Linked DNA regions of Homo sapiens: all the other regions are linked to region 1. The links are contacts of gene promoters, found by promoter capture Hi-C in blood cells and fetal thymus (Javierre and others, 2016). All regions are on one chromosome and are shown on one strand. The core of a region is centred on a gene start or on the middle of the fragment in contact, and the rest is flanking DNA. Distances in the headings are between cores, read along the strand shown.

Region 1 (3,871 bases), core at 750-3,249:
TGGGGGGCTTGAGGAAGGAGGATTGCTTGAACCTAGGAGTTCAAGGTTGCAGTTAGCTGTGATTATGCCATTGCACTCCAGCCTGGGTAACAGAGTGAGACCCTGTCTGAAAAACAAACAAACAACAATAACAAGAAATCGAAAATACCACAATGCCTTAAATATTATTTAAATAAAGGTTTGGGTTTTATCCAGTAGGCAGTTTGGACCCAATGAAGAATTTCAGGGCACTGAGTACACATTTGTGTATTAGATATATATAATTGGTGGGTCCTCAGACTTCACCAGCTCATGGTTTTAAGATAAGGTCCATTTCTCCTACTGGGTTTCTCTCCTCAAACAATTCCTGAGACTCCCTAAGGTATCCTTGCCTGTCCCACAAAGCCATTGCAGTGATTGCTCAACCCGTCTGCCAGCCATCCTCAGTCCAAATAGTCCTGATACCGAAGGCCTGGGGTCATATTATACCATCCCTTAACTGGCTTCTTCAGGCTTCTCTGCTCCTGCTATACCTATCTGCCACCACATCCCATCCCATTTCCACCTACTGATGCTCTTAACTCCGTAAATACTGCACAGCTAAAAACAACCTGTGGTATTAAACAAAACTTCATAGATATACAGAAAAGCTGAAGAACAGCAGAGAATGATTGATCTTGCTTTACAAGGGGCTAGTCTTAGGGTCAGCCCCAAATCTGAACTCAGGTCCTTCTACTTCTCAGCAGGTCTCCGGGGCATTACCCACCTTGAGAACCTCTGGGCCTATTATCTACACTGTCTCTGCCTAGGTTCCCAATACCCTTGGGCCAAGGAAGAGGAAGAGGATGTTTCCTTCCCCAAAGCCTGTTTATTTTCACCCCCAGAATAAATGAGTGCAGACTTCTATTTCCTTCAAAGAAAACTCCACCTACAAAGTATGACTTGACCTTTACAAGCCATATAAAGCAAACATAGTAGTTAATAGTACATTTAGTCAAGTCGGAGTTAAATCTTAAATGATACCATATGTAGGATATCAACAGTTCATCTTAAATCTGTATTTCAGGGAAAGAATTTCTCTAGGATGTAGAATGTAATCTAGGTTAGAATTTCTCTAATTTTGCAGGGGCACGATCCTGTTGAGTATAGACCCAATTTACATTTCTAAACAAGTTATGCCAGTGAAGCCAAAGGCAGACAAAGTTTCTTAGCTACACTCTTAGACAAGAGAACAGAAAGCCAGCATACACTCTGAGAAAAAGAGGAACATGAGTTAGGAATGAATGCACGTTAATTTAGTGAGTTTCTTAAGTGTCAATATGGTTTCAGATGGAATCATTGAAAGAAATAGGCTTGAACAAGGAAGACTCTAAACTGGCAATGAATTTTCCACTGGGTTTTGATGAAATGAAGGAATCCAAAAATTATAAAATAGGTTGGGAATGGTATTACACGGTCCAAAATCTACCCTCTAAAGACCAGCCTCTGGTCCCTCCAAGTGCGTCTCCTTTACATCTCACATTAAGTATCCTTCGAGTACTTCTGAAAAGCCACATTCACCAGGGTGCCTGTGCTTTGTCGTAGCTTCCAAGAAGTCAGCGAGTGAAAGGCCAATTTCCAAAGTGATTCGGGAACCACTGACACTCGCATCGCTCTTGGAAGACATGCCCACCAGAACCGCGCCCGGGGAGAGCGCCTTCCGCAACGGGAGGGCCCCGCAGTGGATTATCAAAAAGGCCACGGTCATCGGGTGAACACAGACCCCTCAGTCCTCCCGCCTCGCTCTCTTGAGACTGAGGGGTCCGCAGAAGTCGCCACCCAAATAAAACCACATTCCTGCTGCTGCGGGCGTGGGCTCCCGGGTCGCAAGCCGGGAGGGTCGAGCCGAAGTCTCCGGCGGGCCGCAAGAGGAGAAGGGGGCGTGGCTGCGTCCCGGGGGCCGAGGGCGGCCGGGGAGGGCGGGCCTTGGCCCCGAGTGAAGGCGCGGCGGCCCAACCGGCGTGAGAGCGCGGGGCCGGCCTTCCTGCAGCCTCTTCCGCTCGCCGGCTGCGGCGCCTGGGACGGTTGCGGTGGGTCTGGGCGCTGGGAAGTCGTCCAAGATGATTAAAAAATTCGACAAGAAGGACGAGGAGTCTGGTACGCGCGGGGCTTCCGAGGCCCACCCTCAGCCGCGGGACGCCCCTTCCCCCGCCCGCCGCCACCTGCTTTCAGGCCGGCGGGGCTGGGGGCGTGGGCGCCGCCGTGCCAGGGGGCCGGAGCTGGAGCCGGCCCCTCCCCTCCCCTCGCGGCTGCCCGGGGCCTGCCCGTAGCCCCTCCCCCGGGCGCCGGAGCCTCCCTTCGGGCCGCGCGCTCCCGCCCCGGCGCCCGCGCGCGCCCCGTTCCCGCCCCTCTTGCGGCGCAGCCCCTCCGAGCCGCCTCCTCCCCTGCGCGCGGGCCTCCGGCGGGGGCCGAGGGCGTGCGCGCGTCTCCGCGTCCAGGGGTGCTGGTAGGGTCGGACCCCTAGTGGGAGCACCCTGTTCCCGGGGCTGGGGTCGACGGCACAGGGTGTGTGTGGAGGAACGTTCAGGTGCCTGGTACCTTATCGTTTTCCTGGGGTCACCGGCTCTGTCCAGGTCCCCGGGGGCAAGACTGTCCCGTGGGACACAGCTCGTTGAATGCTCAGGTGTCCAGAAGTGACCTGCGTCTTGATGCCCGTCTTTGGTCCAGAGCAAATGGGGAAGATGCCAAGCATCCTCAAAAAGAAAAAAATTCTCAGTGTTTGGTAGCATCTCCCACAGTGTGAGAGGGGGTTGGGTTAGTCAACCTCCATGGCCTCTTGCACCTTTACGCCTGCATGATTCTCTGGGAAACTTCGTTTCTGCCTCTCCTTAAGTGTTAGAAACACATAAAATACTGCTTACCTAAGGAAATCAAAAGCACCCTACTACAATCTCATTAATCTTCGTTGTTGTGGAAATGACACATTTTTAACATTCATGGAAAAAGAGGGCAGGGAAAGAAGACACTCATTTTGGAGAGGGTTGCTGCGAAAGAGAAGTCTCAGCTCTTCGAGTATGGCAGTGACAGAGCCGGGATCAAAATGATTTCATTCAGTTCGTATGCGTATTAGCCATGATTATCACTGTGCCATCCAAGTGTTCACTTCCCAAGCATTCAGTACCCTTCTCTGGAAAGTATATAAGTTTGTGTAGAACAGCTGTTCAGGACATTTTTTTGTTTTGTTTTATAAATAGGTAGTGGCTCCAATCCTTTCCAGCATCTGGAGAAGAGTGCTGTTTTACAGGAGGTATGACTGGGAAGTATCTTGTGCCCTTTCTTTTCTATTCTGTTTTAGAGTGGTGGGCAGAGAATCCCTGGGCTGCTGTGATCACGACATGCAAAACAAGAAACGTAACAGAGTTTAGGGAATATAGATTTGAGGGAAAAGAAAGAGGGGTTACTTGTCACAGGAGAATTTGGAGCTTATAGAAATGCAAAGACATGAAGACTGTCACAGGTTGGGAATTTTAAATGTAAGAACAGGTGTTTAGTGCAAGGTTATTGAAATCAGTTATCTGTATTAATCTCATTGTATTAGTATGATATAGATAAGTATTGTGATCCTTATTTAACTGGTATAGCCCATAAAGTTGAAGTAGTCAACCTAAGGGAATGAGAAAGTATAGGATGGAAAATCAAGGCCACGTGTAATAATTTATCAGATACCTTAGTAAATTGAGAACTATAGACAATGTTCTTTGGATACCGTGATTAAAAATAGTCTGTATTAAAGTTGATTTGCTATAATCTGTGATAGAAAAGGTAGAAAAGTAGCAATGTTTTTTATGTTTTTTCATAGGCTCGTATATTCAATGAAACTCCAATCAATCCAAGAAGATGTTTGCATATTCTT
Region 2 (3,871 bases), core at 421-2,920, 640 kb after region 1:
GCATGGTTACGCATACCTGTGTTCCCAGCTACTCGGGAAGCTGAGGTGGCAAGATCGCGTAAGCTTGGGAGGTTAAGGCTGTGGCGAGCCATGATTGCACCACTGCACTGCAGCAAAGGAAAAAGATGGTGTCTCTCTCTATTGCCCGGACTGACCTTGAACTCTTGGGCTCAAGTGATACTTCTGCCTCAGTATCCAGAGTAGCTGGGTTTACAAGTGCCACCTGGCTAATAATAATTAATTTTAAAAATTAATTTTAGTAAGCAGGAGAGCACTGATATATTTGTAAGTATTATTTCTTCTATCAGGTAGTCCATCCCTCCCTTCCTCCCTCCCTCCTTCCCCTCCTTCCCATCTTTCCCTTCCTTCCCTTCTTTCTTTTCCTTCCCTTCCTTTCCTTCCCTCCCCTCCCTCCCTTCCCTCCTTCCCTTCCCCCCTTCCCCTCTTACTGTCCCTCCCTCCCTCCCTCCTTCCCTTCCTTCCTTCCTTCCTTCCTTCCTTCCTTCCTTCCTTCCTTCCTTCCATTTCTTCTATCAAGTACACGTTTCTCTCTCCTCTCTCTCTCTCTCCCAGGCTACAGTGCAGTGGCACAATCATAGCTCACTGCAGCTTTGAATTCCTGGGCTTAAGCAATCCTCCTGCCTCAGCCTCCTGAGTAACTATGACTACAGGCGTATGCCACCACATCCAGCTAATTTTTTTTTTTTTGGTAGAGATGGGGTCTCACTATATTGCCCAGGCTGATCTCAAACTCCTGGCTTCAAGTGATCCTCCTACCTCAGCCTCCCAAAATGTTAGGATTACAGTCATGAGCAACTGTACCTGGCCTCAAATTCATGTTTCTTGTCTCAATCTGTGTAGGATGTCTTCAGTGGGGATGGTGGAGGAAGGGCATCTGAAAATCTTCTATGAGAGCAAAAAGAACACTTACAAAAATTATCAAAATCAACTTACTTTTTTTTTTTTTTTAGAGGGAATCTTGTTCTGTTGCCCAGGCTGGAGTGCAATGGCGTGGTCTCGGCTCACTGCAACCTCCACCTCCCAGGTTCAAGCAATTCTCCTGCCTCAGCCTCCCGAGTAGCTAGGATTACAGGCACCCACCACCATGCCTGGCTAATTTTTGTATTTTTAGTAGAGACAGTGTTTCACCATGTTGGCCAGGCTGGTCTTGAACTGCTGACCTCGTGATCCGCCCACCTCGGCCTCCCAAAGTGTTGGGATTACAGGCGTGAGCCACTGTGCCCGGCCTCAAAATCAACTTTCACAGGACGATTGGACAGAGATTTCTTTAAATGCCTGAACAAATAAGTCCCCCAGTCTTGCCAAGGAGCTCTGTGTGTGGTGGGGGGAGCACACCTTCAGTAGTCAAGCAGGCAGTTTGCAGTTCTGTGTTAGCCTTCACTTCCTGCTTGTGCAGAACCTCAGCATCAGCCAGAGATGAGAGAGCTTAGGGCCTTTTCAGGTCTTTGCTGGGCATGTGTATAGCTCTATACCTGCACATGTCCTTCTAGATTCCAGGGAATATGTCAGAGCCTTTCAAGCCTGCCTATGGACATTTCATTTCCCAGCTTTTAAGGTTTTTGGTCAGCTTGTTACTTGCTCCAACTCATACTGCTGCCTCAAAGCAACTGTGATGTTAAACAGTTGCCAATGATCATTTTTGAAAACCTGTCTGGGGAAAAGGGTGTTCTCACTGCGACAGTATAATGTTCTAGGCAACTGCCACACAGATCAAATAATGGTGGTTCTCTGGAATGGGGCTTTGGAGGAGCTCCACCTCTTTTCTGTGCTCTCCGGTGACTGCTAAGCTACTGGTTTTCACCATGATTGTGGGGATGTTGGTTTTCTGTTTTTTTTTTTTTTTTTTGAGATGGAGTTTTGCTCTGTTGCCCAGGCTGGAGTGCAATGGCGCAATCTCAGCTCACCAAACCTCCGCCTCCCGGGTTCAAGCGATTCTGCCTCAGCCTCCCGAGTAGCTGGGATTACAGGCATGCGCCACCATGCCTGGCTAATTTTGTATTTTTAGTAGAGACGGGGTTTCTCCATGCTGGTCAGGCTGGTCTCAAACTCCCGACCTCAGGTGATCCACCCACCTTGGCCTCCCAAAGTGCTAGGATTACAGGTGTGAGCCACCACGCCCCGCTGGGATGTCGGTTTTCAAGGCTACCACAGAGCTGAGCTGGGGAAGGGAAGATGGAAACAAGAGTTAAAACATCACAAAATGGGCTGGGCGCAGTGGCTCACGCCTGTAATCCCAGCACTTTGGGAGGCCGAGGCAGGCGGATCATGAGGTCAGGAGATCGAGACCATCCTGGCTAACACGGTGAAACCCCGTCTCTACTAAAAATATAAAAAATTAGCCAGGCGCAGTGGCGGGCGCCTGTAGTCCCAGCTACTCGGGAGGCTGAGGCAGGAGAATGGTGTGAACCCCAGGAGGCGGATCCTGCAGTGAGCCGAGATCACGCCACTGCACTCCAGCCTGGGCAACAGCGAGATTGTCTCAAAAAAAAAAAAAAAGATTATGAGTGACTTTGTTGAGCAACTAAATGTCAATTTGAGGCTGAGAGAAGACCAGTGACTCGAGTGGCTTCCTACTTTTTAGACGATCAGGCTAGGATGACATGTTCTCTCTTCACTTTTCCTATGAATCCCTTCCAAAACGTGTTTTCATTCTTTATTAAAGCTGATTCAGGGCTGGGCGTGGTGACTTACGCCTGTAATCTCAGCACTTTGGGAGGCCAAGGTGGGTGGATCACCTGAGGCCAAGAGTTAAAGATCAGCCTGGCCAACATGATGAAACCCTGTCTTTATTAAAAATAGAAAAATTAACCAGGTGTGGTGTCAGGCACCTGTAATCCCGGCTACTCAGGAGGCTGAGGCAGGAGAATTGCTTGAACCTGGGAGGCAGAGGTTGCAGTGAGCCGTGATCGCACCATTGCACTGCAGCCTGGGCGACAGAGCAAAAACTCTGTCTCGGAAAAAAAAAAAAAAAAAAAGGCTGATTCAGTGTAGCTTCTACTTCATTCTAGGCCTACTAGACTGACCTCTTTAGGAAGTAGCTTAGCAAGGCCTTTCTGCACTCATCATTTGCCTTTGTACCAGTGTACCAAGTATGCAGTAGATGAATTGGGTAATGCCAGAGATAATTATACTATAGTATATAATCAGTTTCCACACTGCTTAGATTTCAGGCAGATTCCTTCTTTTCCAACTTAGGTATTACCAGTAGAATTCCTAATTGTATACTTTATTTACTCTGGTACCCAGTTAAGCTTCACCTTACAATGCAAGCCTTTTTGTATCTCTTGTGTAGACTTTAGGAACATGCCATTTTTTTCATTCTTAGCTCACAGTAAGTTATAACTTGGTAGTTATAAAATGATGGTTCTTTAAGACTTTTCACCTATTTAAGCATCCATCTCCACTAACTCTGTTCTGTTTTCTCTTTCTTAAGGTAACAATTTCACACATATATAGAAGTACACGGAATAGTATAAATAATGAAACCCCATCACTCAACTTCAACAATGATCAACTCATGGCCGATCTTGTTTCTTCTATATTCCTAACACCTAACACCCTGCCCCTCTGCATTGTTTTGAAGTTCAGTCCCACATATGCCATTTTATCTAAATATTTCAAAATATAAAAAATATGGATTCTACTTTTTAAACATGGTCTCAGTAGTATCATTACAGCCCCATCAAAATGAAAAACAATAATTTCCTGACACCATCAAATAGCTCATCAATTTTACTATATTTCCTCAATCATTCAATATGTGTTTTTTATTTATTTTATTTTATTATTATTTTTTGAGACAGAGTCTCTCTCTGTTGCCCAGGCTGGAGCACAGTGGCACGATCTCAGC
Region 3 (3,871 bases), core at 853-3,352, 620 kb after region 1:
TAAATAGGACGTTTTCAATAAATATTTGTTGGACTAAGGAAGGAGTATCAATAGTGTCAAATGCCACAGACTTCTAAATCCATCCATAACACGGTTTCCAACAAGGATTCTAAATTATTTGCTCTCCAATGAGGGTCACCATTTCCTCGCTTGTAGAAAGGTGCAACTTAGGAGGGTCGTATGAGTTAATTTATTTTTATTTTTATTTTTTTTGAGTCGGAGTTTTGCTCTTGTCGCCCAGGCTGGAGTGCAGTGGCGCAATCTCGGCTCACTGCAACCTCCGCCTCCCGGGTTCAAGCGATTCTCCTACCTCAGCCTCCCTAGTAGCTGGGATTACAGGCGCCCGCCAGCAAGTCCAGCTAATTTTTGTATTTTTGGTAGAGATGGGGTTTCACCATGTTGGCCAGGCTGGTCTCGAACTCCTGACCTCAGGCGATCCGCCCACCTCGGCCTCCCAAACCGCTGGGATTACAGGCATGAGCCACGGCGCCCGGCCGTATTAGTTAATATTACTTGAAAATTAAGTTGAGCCCCTCATCCCTGCTGAATTTGGACTGACAGCGTTCTAAAAATCTCTTATCAACCTAAATATGCTAGTTGATAAAGGAAACGATTAATCAAGATTGTCCTAAACAGTACAGCCCTCCTTAAGCTCGCTCTAAGGTTCTAAAATGATGAGAAAAGGCGTGGGCCCCGCGGTTAGACTTTCCCAGCCAGGCTGCCTCAAGAGGCGGATATTAACCTCCCAGGACGGAAGTTCCGGAGCCTTCAAACTCTCGGGGAAGCAACTCGGCAGCGGACCAAGATGGCGGCGCCCTGTGAGGGACAAGCGTTTGCCGTAGGGGTTGAAAAGAATTGGGGTGCAGTAGTTCGCTCCCCAGAAGGGACCCCCCAGAAAATCCGGCAGCTGATAGATGAGGGGATTGCCCCGGAAGAGGGAGGCGTGGACGCGTGAGTTCACGAGTTAACCCTGGGTCCGGCGTTGGAAGATTGAAGAAGGCTTGGGGAAGGGGTGGCGGGTTGGGGGAGGTTCCCCTCGGTCGGCGACTCGGGCAGTGGGGATGGCTTCTTAGAATCTGAAAGAAACTCTGGTTACTATGTTTGATCGGCTTTGATCTTCCCCTCGGGGTGTACCAGATTCCCAACCGCAGCCGAAATTTTGTCATCGGACATTATTTTTGGAAGTAAAGAGGACCGTTAACTGAATGAGTTCACTTGACTTCTCTTAATTGGGGATTCTTAACCTTTTTTTGTGCCGTGGACCCCTTTGGCTCTCTGGAGAAGCTTATTAACTCTCAGAATATTTTTAAATGCTTAAAGTAAATTACATAGGATTATAAAGGAAACCAGTTAGATTGGAATGTAGTTATCAAGATGGTAAAAGGAAAAAGTTACGCAGTAACAATGCTTTTTATTAAAGAGTCCATAATATCTAGTAGTATGTGTTGTCAACCATAATTTTGAAGTAGTGATGAGCACAAAGGTATTTGAAGACATGCAACCACCATAATGTGGGAACATTATTTCCATTGGTGACAAATTAGCAGGTACTGCTAATACTACTATGGTGTTTTTACCTTCATTCATAATTGAAGAAAATGCTAAATCTTGTCATTTAGAGAGAAATAAATGTCATTTTTACCCATCCAAGTTTATGGATGCTGTGAATTTTTTTTGGCCTAGAACCACACCCGCTTGAGGCTCTCTATGAATCTCTGAGAGTCTTAGAGTAAGTTTATTTCTTTTGAGCTATAATCGTTGATGTAATCCTATTTTTATTAAAATAATGCCTGTCGCCGGGCGCGGTGGCTCACGCCTATAATCCCAGCACTTTGAGGAGGCTGAAGCGGGCAGATCACGAGGTCAGGAGATCAAGACCATCCTGGCTAACACGGTGAAACCCCATCTCTACTAAAAATACAAAAAATTAGCCGGGCGTGGTGGCCCGCGCCTGTAGTCCCAGCTACTCGGGAGGCTGAGGCAGGAGAATTGGTTGAACCTGGGAGGCGGAGGTTGCAGTGAGCCGAGATCGCGTCACTGCACTCCAGCCTGAGTGACAGAGTGAGACTCCGTCTCTAAATAAATAAATAAATGCTTGTCTTTCAGCAATTCCCCAGGCACTGTTGAAATGCCTTCCACTGAAAATGAGAGAATTGCTTTGCTGAGTTTTTTTCTCCCTGATTTTTTTTTCATGAAATCTCCCGAAGATCTTTGATTCGAATTTTCTAATTGGTTCTTTTTTTTTTGGAAGGAGTGGGTATGAAAGGTCCCTCCAGGTAGAAATATCAAAATTGTTTTTTCTGCTGTTAAGAGTCGAATTTCTGCCAGGCGCTGTGGCTCACGCCTGTAATCCCAGCACTTTGGGAGGCTGAGGTGGGCCAATCACAAAGTCAGGAGTTACAGACCAGCCTGACCAACATGGTGAAACCCCGTCTGTCCTAAAGATACAAAAAATTAGCCGGGCCCACGCCTGGTGGTACGCGCCTGTAATCCCAGCTACTGGGGAGGCCGAGGCAGGAGAATTGCTTGAACCTGGGAGGTGGAGGTTGCAGTGAGCCGAGATCGCACCGTTGCACTCCAGCCTGGGCAACAGAGCGAGACTCCATCTCAAAAAAAAAAAAAGTCGAATTTCTGAAGAGATTCAAATTGTATAATGCATACTTGAAGTCTTGAGTCTTATTTTCTGTCTACTAAAGTTATGCCAAATACTTGTGGAGAACAGTGAGTGAGTGAGGAGAATAGTTTGCTAGGATTAGTGGAGCCCTGTAGAGGTAGAAATTGAAGTTTAGATATGGGTAAACTGTAAAGAGTTTTGAATGCCAGACTGAAAAATTTGGATTTTATTTAGTAAGTATTATAAAACCATTGAAAATAATAAGCTGAGGAATGACATGAGTAAAATGATTTTTAGGAAGCTTAAAATCCAGCGTTGGTGTGATTTATGATACGATGTGTAGAGAAGCTAGATAACATTTAAGCAGAGGGTACTGTGAAAGGTTTACCAACAGTTTTGCCACTTTATATTAGGAAGGACACGTCTGCCACATCCCAGTCAGTTAATGGATCACCCCAAGCGGAACAACCTTCATTGGAATCTACAAGCAAAGAAGCCTTCTTTAGCAGAGTGGAAACATTTTCTATATCCTTTTTTAGTTCATGTGAATTGCACTTTCTGCCTGCTTCTAGAATTCCTCCAAGGTATTACACCACTTACTGTGATGCTTTAAACTTAAGAATAAAACCTTGGTAAGAAATTATATAGGAAAGTCAGCATCCTAATATGTTATCACTCAGAGGGACAGTTGAGGTTATCTAACCTTTTCTTTTTACAGAAGAAAAAACTAAGAGCCTGAGAAAAGAAGAAATAATAACTAATACTTGTATATAGTATGTTTTTGTATATATTATCACATTCGATCTTGACCTTAAACCTATGAAAATAAGCATTATTATTATACTTGTTTTACAGAAGAGGAAACAGTTTGGGGCAGGTTATATGACTTGCCCAAGATGAACCTGTTAGCAAATGGCAGATCCAGGATTATAATCTAATGTTTTTTAGATTATTAGAGACTACACTACTATAATGTCTCTTTCTAGATTTTCCTTTGTGTATTAGCTACCTATTGCTGCATAGCAAATTGCCCCAAAACTTAGTGATCTTAAAACAACAAACAGTTTTTATTTCATAATTTCTGTGGATCAGGAATCCAGGCATGGCTTAGCTGAGTCCTCTGGCTCAGGGTCTCTCACAGACTGCAATTAAGGTTGGTCAGGGCACTGTCATTTCAAGGCTCAACTAGGAAAATTGTCTCAAAAGAAAAATAAAATAAAATAAAACAAAACAAAACAAAATTAGCCAGGTGTGGTG
Region 4 (3,871 bases), core at 897-3,396, 560 kb after region 1:
AAAAAAACTTATTATTAAAAGTATTCATTAGTTATAAATATCGAACAGCCTAAATGATTAATCAATTTAACTGGTTACTTCTTTCCAAATGTAAAGGCCACAATTACCTCTACCACAAAAGACAGGTCTTCTGTTGGACCTAGAAGCCTCAAGGAAAGCCAAGGAAGTTTGATCCAGTTAGCTCTCCCATATCCCCCAAAAGGCAGGTACAACTTTTTACTACTCCCAGAGCCCAAGTTGCTCAGACCAAAGCAATCCATTCACACCAGCCCACAATATTACTTGTTGGTTATATAAGCATCTCCTACCACAGGGCCTCCCAAAGTGCTGGGATTACAGGTGTTAGTCACCATGCCTGGCCCTCATTACCACATTGTTTTAATTATTATAGCTTTGAACTATCTTTCAATATTTAGAACAAATTCCCTTTTGTATTACTTTTTCCCAAAAACTTCTAGTTATTTTTCTCCATTTACTTTTGCAATGAATTTTAGAATGAGTTTGTTAAGTCTATAAAAAGTCCCATGGACAGACAGCATCTTATCCAGGTGATCAAAATTAACATCACCAGTAATGGGACAAATCAATCAACATCATGTGCAATGAGATGATCACAATATTATTTCAGTGGTAGTCCTGCCAAAAATATATAAGCTGAATGTAACTATGAGAAAATGGGGAGAAACCCAAACAAAGGGACGTTTTACAATATACCTAGCCTGCAACTGTTCAAAAATATCAATGTCAAAAAGACAAACGCTGAGAAACTGTTCAACACTGAAGGAGGCTAAAGATACATGACAACAGAATGTAACACACAATCTCAGATTTTCTACTGCTATTAAAGAACATTATTGGCCCAGCACGGTGGGTCATGCCTGTAATCCCAGCACTATGGGAGGCTGAGGCGGGCAGATTGCCTGAGGTCAGGAGTTTGAGACCAGCCTGACTAACATGGTGAAACCCTATCTCTACTAAAAATACAAAAATTAGCCACGCGTGGTGGTGGGCACCTGTGATCCCAGCTACTCGGGAGGCTGAGGCATGAGAATCGCTTGAAACTGAGAGGTGGAAGTTGCAATGAGCTGAGATTGCACCACTGCACTCCAGCCTGGGCAACAGAGTGAGACTCCGTCTCAAAACAAACAAACAAAAAGAACATTATTAGGATAGTGGCAAAATAATAATGGCAAAATCTGAAACAAGGTCTGTAACTTATATAGTAGTATTAATTGTACCCATTATTTATAGGGTTAATAATCAGTGTTGATGCCTAATTTTGATACAGGTTCTGCAGTTATGGAAGAGAATGTCTGTTTTTCAGGAGCAAACACTTTGGTACACAGACATAAAGAGATATGGCAAAATAGTGAAACCCTATCTGTACCGACCCTGCCAAAAAAAATTAGCCAGGCATGGTGGCACATTCCTGTAGTCCCAGCTACGTGGGTGGCTGAGGTGGGCTGGAGGATCGCTTGAGTGCAGTAAGCTATGATTGCACCCCTGCACTTCAGCCTGGGTGACAGAACAAAACTTCATCTCTAAAAAAAATTAAATTTTAAAAAATTAAAAAAAAAAAAAAGAGACCTGCTGGGCTCAGTGGCTCACATCTGTAATCCCAGCACTGTGGGAGGCCAAGGCGGGTGGATCACTTGAGATTAGGAGTTCGAGACCAGCCTGGTCAACACGGTGAAACCCTGACCCTACTAAAAAAATACAGGGTGTGGTGGCGCACACCTGCAGTCCCAGCTACTCAGGAGGCTGAGGCGGAAGAATCACTTAGACCCCGGAGGCGGAGGCTGCAGTGAGCTGAGATGGCGCTGTTGCACTCCAGCCTGGGCGACAGGGTGACAGCCTGTCTCAAAAAAAGAGAGAGAGAGCAAGACATCATGTCTGCAATTTTCAAATGGTTGAAACAGAAAAATATGTATGTGCGTATTGTGTATAAAGGGGGGAAGGGAGAGAGGAGAGGGAGCAGGATAAAGTAAAAGACAAAATAACATTTGGGGAATCTGGGTAAAGGATACAGGAGACATTTTTTTCCCTTTTCTTTCTTTTTTTTTTTTTTTGTTTGAGATGGGGTCTCGCTCTGTCGCCCAGGCTGGAGTGCAATGACTCAATCTTGGCTCATTGCAACCTCCACCTCCCGAGCTCAAGCGATCCTTCCACCTCAGCATCCTGATGAGTGCTGGGACCACAGGCGCGCACCACCACGCCCAGCTTTTTTTTTTTTTTTTTGGATATTTGGTAGAGACGGCGTTTCGTCTCGTTGCCCAGGCTGGTCTTGAGGCGGCTAACTCCTGAGTTTAAGCGATCCACCTGCCTCGGCCTCCCACAGTGCTGGGATTACAGGCGTGAGCCACCGTGCCCGGCCAGGATACAGGAGAATTTCTACCATTTTTGCAATTTTTGCAATTAAACCGGAAGTTCTATGGCAATTAAAATTCTATTTTTAAAAAGTCCCTTGAGGATTTTATCTGGGATAACCCATTAAGGAACATAATCCCTAGCCATTTATTCTTGTCTTTTTTGATGTCCATGAGTATAGTTTCTTTTTTCTTTTTTTTTGAGACAAGTCTCGCTCTGTCGCCCAGGCTGGTGTACAGTGGCGCGATTTCGGCTCACTGCAACTTCCGCCTCCGGGTTCAGGCGATTCTCCCACCTCAGCGTCTGGAGTAGCTGGGACTCCAGGCGCACACGACCTCAACCAGCTAGTTTTTTTTTGTTTTGTTTTTTGTTTTTTTTTTCCCGGGGAAGGGTTTTTTGTTTTGTTTTGTTTGGAGACGGAGTCTTGCTCTGTCCCCCAGGCTGGGGTGCAGTGGCGCGGTCTCACCTCACTGCAACCTCCGCCTCCCGGGTTCCAGCCATTCTCCACCCTCAGCCTCCAGAGTAGCTGGGACTACGGTACGGGCCACCGCGTCCGGCTCTTTTTTTTTTTTTTTTTTTTTTTTGAGACGGAGTCCCACTCTGTCGCCCAGGCTAGAGTGCAGTGACGCGATCTTGGCTCACTGCAACCTCTGCCTCCTGGGTTCGAGCAATTCTCCCGCCTCAGCCTCCCGAGTAGCTGGGATTACAGGCGTGCACCACGACGCCCGGCTAATTTTTGTATTTTTAGTAAAGACTGGGTTTCGTCATGTTGGCCAGGCTGGTCTTGAATTCTTGACCCCACGTGAACCGCCCACCTCGGCCTCCCAAAGCGCTGGGATTACAGGCGTGAACCATGGCACCTGGTCGCCCAGCTAGTTTTGTATTTCATCAAGTTTCATTGTTTTATTGTTTTTTTATTTCTAAGTACTTTATAAATTTCCATACAATTGTAACTAGATACCTCTTTTATTTTGTAATTGGTTGCTGTTAATATATAGGAAGGTGGTTTTTTGCAAGTTTAAATTTTGTCCAGCCAATTTTCTGAACTCTAGTATTAGTTATCATGAATTATCTTGAATTTTATAGGTAGACAATCAGATCATCTGTTATTAATGCCAACTTTAACTCTTCTTTTCCAATATGTGTACTTCTTTTTTCTTTTTCCTGGTCTTCTACTGTATTGGCTGAAAACTCCAGAACAAGGTTGAATAGTGGAGATGACAGTGGACATCTTTGTCTCGTTTTTTTTACTTTAATGAGGACACTGGTAAGGTTATGCCGTTATGTATTATGTTTGCTATTGGTTTCTTATCAATAAATGATACATCATATATGATATTTACTACTGGTTTCTTATAGTATTCTGTCATAAAATAAATCTTCTTTTATCCCTGGATGCGTAAGAATGTTTTCCCTTACCAGGAATGGATGTGGGGTTTATTTGTTTATTTATTTTTGAGACAGGGTCTTGCTCTATTGCCCAGGCTGGAACGTAGCAGTGTAA
Region 5 (3,871 bases), core at 770-3,269, 540 kb after region 1:
TCCGTGTTAGCCAGGATGGTCTCAATCTCCTGACCTCGTGATCCGCCCACCTTGGCCTCCCAAAGTGCTGGGATTACAGGCCTGAGCCACCGCGCCCGGCCTATATATATGAATTTTTTTTTACTTCAACAACAAACAATTTCACTATTAACTAACATTAAACTAAACCTATATTAAGTATCCAAGATGCCAAATACTGGGAATACAAAGATGAAAATAAAGGCCTTTGCCTTCAAGAAATGAGCAGGATCTTCAATAATATGGTATCAAGGGGGTAAAACTATTCCGCCCTCCCAGGAAACACCTTTGACATCACGGTCAGGGCCGGAATGCCACAGGTAGCATTTCTCTTACATTTATGTTATTCTCTCAAATTTGGGTGTGATGATTTTTCTCCTCTTTTCTTAGAGGAGGGCCTAGCTTTGGAAGGAAGTTTTAAAAATATGTTATTAATCATCTAAGGTTTGCCTATATCTGGCTTTTTTTCTTGCTAATATCTCTAAAAAGATTTCCTTATCATCTGTAACTACATAAGGAAGATATGAAAATAAAAACTTACTGGTGTAACAGCTGCACAGTGAAAATAAACTGGCTCTGGCATGGTAGCTGGGAGCTTCACCCATTGGAAAGTCTGCAGATTCAACTTCCAGATATCTCCCAGGATCACCTCTCCATTATAGCCCCCACAAATAAATACATCTATGAAGAAAAGAGAAAGCCAAGATCACACAAAGGAAAAGAGCCAAAGCTATGGAGTGTTTTAGAGTAGGTCACACAGCCAGCTGACATGCGGCCAGTGAAGTGGATTGCCCCATGACACAGACGACTTCTGCTGTGCAGCCTCTCATGCTGTTGTCTTGTCCCTCAACAGAACTGAGATGCTATGTCAGGGTCTTCCCTGGGACTAAGAATGCAAGCCTCTAAGGAGCCTTCATGTCAAAGTTACCAAATTCAAACACATACCTACAGATTCCAGGCACAGAAAGTAAATGAGCAAGGGGGTCTAGGGAAGATAAACAAACAGAAGTCTCAGGAAAACAGACAGAAATGCTCATGCTCTAAAAGAGGCGACAGCTATGCAGCCCCAGCTGTTCGGTCCTATAACAGACTTAAGGCTGGCAATTGCCAGATCGTCCATTTTTTTCAAGGCAAGTTGGAAATCTGGTTATGTTTTTAAAAATGAAACATTTTGATTTTTAAGTTTTGGCTAGTATGTATATATATATATATATATATATATATATATTTTTTTTTTTTTTTAAGAGACAAGGTCTCACTATATTACCCAGGCTGGTCTTGAACTCCTGGGCTCAAGTGACCCTCCCGCCTCAGCCTCCCAAAGTGCTAGGATTACAGGCATGAGCCACCATGCCTGGCCTCAAAAAAAATTTTAATACACATATGAGCCAAACAAAACACATTTGCAGGCCACCAGTTTGCAAACTCTTCTTTAAATAATGTCCTGGAAAGAATATACATTTATCTGCTCGCAGAGACTAAAGTCTCTATGTAGACATTTAACCTGAGGAGGAACGTTCACTTCACTGCAATGTTCAGTTTAGGAACACAAAAGAGGCTCTTCCAAGCTTTCTTCGGCGAGAAGAGGACAAACTGAAGCTCTGTTTGATCTGTACAGTTATTAGGAATAATTTTCCCAAAATGAAAGGTGTGGGTTTTCTGGTAAAATCAGTTAGTTATAACTAATTAGATAACTTGTAACAAAGGCTATGTGAACCTTCAAACGAAATGCCTAGAACTAAGGTTGAATTCTATTTGTATGGTGCTTGGCCTCAAAGAATTAAATGAATAAATTTCTTAACTCAGGTCTAGACCAAGTTTAAGCCAATACTTAAGCTATAAAATGCACTGGAAACTTTTTTGGCTAGGATTCAAGGAAAACTGAAAGTACAGTTCCATTCTCACAGAGAGAAATGTGAGCAATGTCATTATCTATAAATCTTATCCAGAAAGCAGGAGCACAATAAAAAATCCCTCTGAACTAGAGATGGCAGAATAATCCTAGTTGTATCTGAACTAAGTTGCTAAAAGCATACAGGCTATCTAACTCATTTATACATGCTTTCCTCCCAGAAAAAATTTAAGAGCTATATCAGACGATGAAATAAGTTGTAAATTAAAAGACAGGAAGGTTATCCAGAGAGGAGTCACTTATCACATTTAGTTAAAGTAGCTGCAGCTGCTTTCTGAAGCCATACAATGCCTTTGTTGTAATATGGCCAAAGAATGAGTGAAGAGTTCCATTTGGCATCAGAGAGAGAACAGAATCAACTTTATGAAATAACACTCTGAAGGAGTTATTACAATTTTAATACAATGTTCGCTGAGGTCTCTACAGTATAAACAGTCAAGATTATTAGTATTAGCCACCATAACCACAGACATCTGTTGAGGTGTGGGATGCTGAAAGATCAAGTGCTACAATAAAAGCTTATTTATCACCATTTTTTGAGTTCTCTAATAACTGAAGGAACCCAAACACCATACTAGTTTACATTATGAAAACAGCTGACAGAGGCATAACTATGAATTTCCCTTTAAGTTTACAAGAAATAGACTTTTCTCAAAGTTATGAGCCTCTTTTGAGGGGGCTATCTTAGGAAATAAGACATTTTCAGAAGATACAATTACAGAAATGGAAGCAAAATGTTATTTAGAATCCTTACCATTTTTTATTTGAACACAACTGTGACACCTTCGGGCTGCAGGAAAGCCTGCCAAACACACAAACACAGAAGTTCCATTACTTACAGAAAGACTGGGAACCACACTGATATAACACAGTGAAAGACACACTACGTGTAACTCAAAACAATCCCTTTGTTACATGTTAAGCAAACATTGACTAGTCCTTCCACTCCCTCCTTATTTCAAAAGCCATCAGGAGTCTCATCATAACAGTACAATGCTAAGGTGCCGGAAACAAAGAGGGAAAGGACAGGAGTTGCTAGTGGCTTTCCCAAGCCCTTTTACCCACAAGGAGATAGGTAGATCTTTATTATTTATTTAATTTAGAGACAGGGTCTCACTGTGTTGCCCAGGCTGGAATGCAGCAGTGCAATCTTGGCTCACTGCAGCCTCCGCCTCCTGGGCTCAAATGATCCTCCCACTTCAGCCTCCTCAGTAACTGGGACTACAGGTGCACACCACCACACCCAGCTAATTTTTTGTATTTTTAGTGGAGACAGGGTTTCACCATGTTGCACAGGCTGGTCTCGAACTCCTGGGCTCAGCCTCCCAAAGTGCTGGGATTATAGGCATGAGCCACCATACCCAGCCGGTAGATCTTTATTTAGGCTCCAATTTCTTATATCACCCATATTTCCCAACTTCTGCCAAAGAATTCAACAAAGAGGATTAAAAGTCTCTTTGCTCAATCGCTAAGGAGAATTACTGTGTTTTTTTGTTAGTTTTTGTTTTTGTTTTTTATTTATTTATTTTTTTGACAGAGTCTTGCTCTGTCTCCCAGGTTGGAGTGCCGTGGCGTGATCTTGGCTCACTGCAATCTCTGCCTCCCAGGTTCAAACAATTCTCCTGCCTCAGCCTCCCAAGTAGCTGGGATGACAGGTACATGCCACCACGCCCAGCTAATTTTTACATTTTTAGTAGAGATGGGGTTTCACCATGTTGGCCAGGCTCGTCTCGAACTCCTGACCTCAAAGGATCCACCCACCTCGGCCTTCCAAAGTGCTGGGATTATAGGCATGAGCCACCACGCCCAGCCCTAAGGAAAAATTATAATTGGGCTAAGGAATACAAGTATTTTCTAATACCAGTTCAACAGATTTTTCTTTCTTTTTGAGATAGGGTCTCATTTTGATGCCCAGGCTGGAGAGTAGTGGCTCAATCATGG
Region 6 (3,871 bases), core at 929-3,428, 510 kb after region 1:
TTTTTGTAAAGATGGGGTTCTTGCTTTATTGCCCAGGCTGGTCTTGAACTCCCAGGCTCAAATAATCCTCCTGCCTCAGCCTCCCAAAATGTTGGGACTATGGGTGTGAGCCACCGCGCCAGGCCCACACCAGCTCTTTCTGAAGGAAGGTTCCTGAGTGGTGGCAGATGCTTCCACGTACATCCCGTGTGGCCAGCACTTGTTCACGTGAACACTTATAGCTGCAAGGGAACCTGGGCAAAGTAATTTTGGTTCTCTGTGGCCATGTTCAGCTAAGAATCTAACACAAAGGAAGAAGAGGATGGCTATGAATCAAAAGCAGCAGTCCAACCCCACAGGAGATGTCTAAATAAGCCCACAGAGCCTTGGCTACACCTGACTCTGGGGACGGTCACTGCTGCGGATGGAGGACTCATCAGTTCCCTTGAAACCTCTTACTCTCACCAAGCGCTTCCTTAAGTGGTTCATCTTTTTTTTTTTTTTTTTGAGACAGAGTCTCGCTCTGTTTCCCAGGCTGGACTGCAGTAGAGCGATCTCAGCTCACTACAACCTCTGCCTCCTGGGTTCAAGCGATTCTCCTGCCTCAGCCTCCCAAGCAGCTGGGACTACAGGCACACGCCACCATGCCCAGCTAATTTTTGTATTTTTAGTAGAGACGAGATTTCACTATGTTGGTCAGGCTGGTCTCAAACTCCTGACCTCATGATCCGCCCACCTCGACCTCCCAAAGTGCTGGGATTACAGGCGTGAGCCACCGCGCCCAGCCAATTGATTCATCTTCTGTCCCTTCCCCAGGCACTGGAAATGAAATGTTCAATAAATCCTGCAGAGCAAAAACAATGTAGACATGTCCACAGTGCTTCTGGAACAACATTCCAAGTATTTTTAGCCAGCGCCAACTACATAATTTGCGAGAGAACCAGAGCAAAATGAAAACGTGGGGCCCTCTGTTCAAGAATTTCAAGACAGCCACAGCAGGGCATTACACCCAGCACAGAGCCCTCCTAAGGGCCCATGCAGGCTGGGTGCAGGCCTGTGAAGACACCTCTGTGGCCCACCCCACATCACACACATAGGTGTGGTTTACAATATGAAGCACCCCATGCCAGTAGCGTTGGCTTTTCCAGCTGCTTCAGGTTTTTTGGTGAGATTTTGTCCTTGTCACAGCTCAGAAAAGCTTAGAAGGGGCCTTGGAGATCAAACAGTTGGACTGTCTTGTTTTACAGACGGCCCAGAAGCCCAGAGTGGGCCTGTCAGTGCCCAGGCCCTGCTGGTGCTGGGGTTCGAGGCCTTTCTAGAAGCGTGGCCTCAGGACACTGCTGCAAGAGGACGCCCCCTGGCGGCGCTGCTGGGGGGCTTGTTTCCTCCTGGCTTTCCCCCCCAGGCTGGCTCCTCTAACCCTCCCTGCACCTCCTGTTGCCTGCTTGGGTCAGACTCTTCCAGCCTCTGGTCAAAGCGGAGACAAGAGGTCACGCCATTGGGAGGGTCACAGGAAGGCCTGACAGTGGCCTGACAAGGGAGAGCTGGGCCCCTGCACTCTGATAATCCCCTCCACGGCCACCTCCGTGCTGAGGGCTGTGCCCCTTGGCACCGAGATGCATGCAGAGCTTACAGGAGGACTTCCTGGCTGGGCACAGCCTGCCAGCCAGGTACCAAGGACACCCTGATGGGCGCACAGGACAGTCCTGGCGGAGGCTGGAGCAGGAGGCGACGGGCTGCGGCATGGGGGTTGCACAGAGCAGAGGCAGCAGCGAGGCCAGATGGCCTGGTCCCGGGGAATGGGCAGGCGCTGAGGTGTCAGATGGGCACGCTTGTCCCCGAGGGCAGGCAGGCGGCGCGAAGCCAGGCGGAGGAGAGAGGCGGGATGAGCAGGGGGCCAGCCAGTCACGCATGTGGTCCCCAGGCAGCTGCAGGCACTGCGGGCCCTCCTGGGCCCGGACTCTGGGCCAGGCTGCGCAGCTGGCACTTGGAAAGGTGCCAGGGCTCCTGCGGGGCCTCCCGAGGAGGGGCAGGGAGCCTGGCTTCTCATGGCCACCTGCTCCTGGCTGGAGCCCAGAGCCGGCTTGTGTCAGCCTCGGGCCTGGCTCGCCTCCTGGCTTCTGACCAGGCCTGGCCCTCCCCACCACCCACCACACCCCTGCCCGCCACCCCCCTGCTGTCCCCACCACACCCTGAGGGGTTCTGGCTCCTGAGGTGCTGAGAGCTGTGAGCAAAGCAGAAGCAGTTGGGCACCGTGTCCCCTTCACACCCTGGCAGCACTGCCCCGGCCTGGGACAGCCCCCAGGTGGAGCACACAGCCCAGGCCAAACCCACACCCTGGGTTTGTGGTGTATGTGGTATGTGTAGCTCTCATGTGTATGCATTAGAACCTGGAAGCCCAGGTGTGAGAAGGCACCTTTTTCTGTCTCACCTTGAAGCAGTGTGGCCCTGCTACGGTCTCCCCAAAGGCTCCAGGGCCACACCAACACAGCTGTCCCTGCCTCACTGAGGACACGGAGGCCGATGATCACTAGTTTCCTGTAACATGGGGAGTTGTGGGCAAAAGAAACGCAACTGTTTCTCACCTGCTCCCGTGGGCTCGAGAGCTGTGAGGTGTTTGCCAAGCGGCCAGGGACCCTCAGCCCATAGTGCCTGGGTGCCCACAGCCCTTGATCGGTGGACTCTGTGGCCCCTTTCTAGAAGATGCTTTGCAGAACTGACTGCCACTCTCCTTCCTCCCCCACAGCATCTCCCTGAGCTCTGGAGAGAGGGCCTGACAGGGCTCAGGTGGAGGGAGGCAGGGTGGCCGTGGGCAGAGAGAGGGCCTGGGACCCGTGAGAAGACGGCAGGCCGAGGCCGGCGCCTCCCTGGAGCTGAGGGAGACCCGCAGGCCTGTAAGGGGCCCTATGCCTAAACCCTGCCCTCCACAGGGGCCGCTGCCGTTGTGCGCCTGGACCAGGCAGGGAGAGGGAGGAAGGTCAAAAACGGCCTCTCCTTCCTCCTTCCTCCTACCGGTCCCCGTGGCTGTTCAGGAACTGGCTCCACTGACTTTTCTGAGCTGCTCTTTGGAGCCAGGCGGTTCCCCGGGTACCAGCGCCAGGCCCAGCCTCTCCGCGGCTGCCCCCATGGCCCCAGAGGCCGGGGAGGTTCACACCCCTGTGGTGGTCACTTAGGTTTGCTGTTCTCCTGCCAGAAGCTTCTCTGCCCTGGCTGGGGTGGGGAGGGAAGAGTCCGTGTGGTCTGGCCCGGCCCTGGCCTCTGCCCGAGTGCCCCCCAGGAAGACCCTGGCTGCCAGCGCGCCAGCCCCTTCCCCGCCGGAGCCACTCCCAGTGGGGACCGCAGGCAGAGTCTGCTCGGGGCCCAGTGGCTGCCACCCCTGGCTGAACTCTTTTCTTCCCTGCATCCGTGTTCTCCGTCTGCAAAAAGAGATCAAAAATCCCCGGCTCTGAGTCAGGGGGCCGTAACCAGGGGCCTCTGCTCCTCCGCACAGCACAGCCCTCAGGAGGCAGGGACGCAGTTTGTCTCCAAAGGCGAAAACGGGCTGAGTGAGCCACTGTCTGCTCCTGCCCGTGCTGCCTGCCTGCGTGCGTGGCAAACGTGCCCTGCCTGGAGTCACAGTTCCTAAGTCCCCGTCACAGACTCCCACGCAGGGCAGGGGGCCATGGGCCTCTGGTGTATCTGGGGAATGTGGTTGCAGTGTGAGGGTGTGGTGTGTGGTGCATGGTGCGTATGTTTGTGTGGGGTGTATGTGGTTTGTGGTGTATGTGGTTTGTGTAGGTGTGGGGTGTGTAGAGGGGTGTGAGGGTGTATTTGTGTGGTGCATATGGTGTGTGCAATACATGTATGGGGCTGTGTATATGGTGTGTGTGTGTTTCTGGTTTGTGGTGTATGT

What was found. Contacts are between HindIII fragments. The CHiCAGO score rates a contact against its expected background, and 5 or more counts as called.
Region 2: a fragment that was not itself captured here is called in contact with the fragment with the promoter of COPG2 in region 1 in 1 of 17 cell types (monocytes); the score reaches 5.3 in monocytes.
Region 3: a contact is called between a fragment that was not itself captured here and the fragment with the promoter of COPG2 in region 1, in 5 of 17 cell types (total B cells, fetal thymus, megakaryocytes and 2 more). The highest score is 6.7, in total B cells.
Region 4: a contact is called between a fragment that was not itself captured here and the fragment with the promoter of COPG2 in region 1, in 1 of 17 cell types (total B cells). The highest score is 5.1, in total B cells.
Region 5: a contact is called between a fragment that was not itself captured here and the fragment with the promoter of COPG2 in region 1, in 1 of 17 cell types (erythroblasts). The highest score is 5.2, in erythroblasts.
Region 6: a fragment that was not itself captured here is called in contact with the fragment with the promoter of COPG2 in region 1 in 1 of 17 cell types (fetal thymus); the score reaches 5.0 in fetal thymus.

Annotation. Positions count from the first base shown.
Region 1 is chr7:130,666,876-130,670,746 of GRCh38, reverse strand. It overlaps COPG2 (coat protein complex I subunit gamma 2), which reads left to right and starts at 1,999. Exons shown (of 24, transcript NM_012133.6): 1 at 1,999-2,115; 2 at 3,213-3,265; 3 at 3,818-3,871. The coding sequence starts at 2,079. It overlaps TSGA13 (testis specific 13), which reads left to right. Exons shown (of 8, transcript NM_052933.4): 8 at 1,564-2,104. The coding sequence ends at 1,733. RefSeq lists silencers at 1,627-1,736, 1,827-2,416 and an enhancer at 2,687-2,796. The HindIII fragment of the contact is 8,378 bases long and covers 1-3,871 here.
Region 2 is chr7:130,029,321-130,033,191 of GRCh38, reverse strand. The region is part of intron 4 of ZC3HC1 (zinc finger C3HC-type containing 1); the gene reads left to right. Among named protein-coding and RNA genes, the nearest start is that of ZC3HC1, 20 kb to the left of the region's middle. The HindIII fragment of the contact is 3,209 bases long and covers 66-3,274 here.
Region 3 is chr7:130,048,301-130,052,171 of GRCh38, reverse strand. ZC3HC1 (zinc finger C3HC-type containing 1) reads left to right here and starts at 798. Exons shown (of 10, transcript NM_016478.5): 1 at 798-951; 2 at 3,028-3,139. The coding sequence starts at 806. RefSeq lists enhancers at 485-674, 735-1,044, 672-1,464. The HindIII fragment of the contact is 1,631 bases long and covers 1,287-2,917 here.
Region 4 is chr7:130,106,924-130,110,794 of GRCh38, reverse strand. The region is part of intron 2 of KLHDC10 (kelch domain containing 10); the gene reads right to left. Among named protein-coding and RNA genes, the nearest start is that of LINC03008, 33 kb to the left of the region's middle. The HindIII fragment of the contact is 4,503 bases long and covers 1-3,871 here.
Region 5 is chr7:130,126,265-130,130,135 of GRCh38, reverse strand. KLHDC10 (kelch domain containing 10) reads right to left here. Exons shown (of 10, transcript NM_014997.4): 8 at 2,685-2,732; 9 at 560-699. Among named protein-coding and RNA genes, the nearest start is that of LINC03008, 14 kb to the left of the region's middle. The HindIII fragment of the contact is 862 bases long and covers 1,589-2,450 here.
Region 6 is chr7:130,152,687-130,156,557 of GRCh38, reverse strand. No RefSeq gene overlaps it. Among named protein-coding and RNA genes, the nearest start is that of LINC03008, 13 kb to the right of the region's middle. RefSeq lists a silencer at 2,217-2,346. The HindIII fragment of the contact is 1,998 bases long and covers 1,180-3,177 here.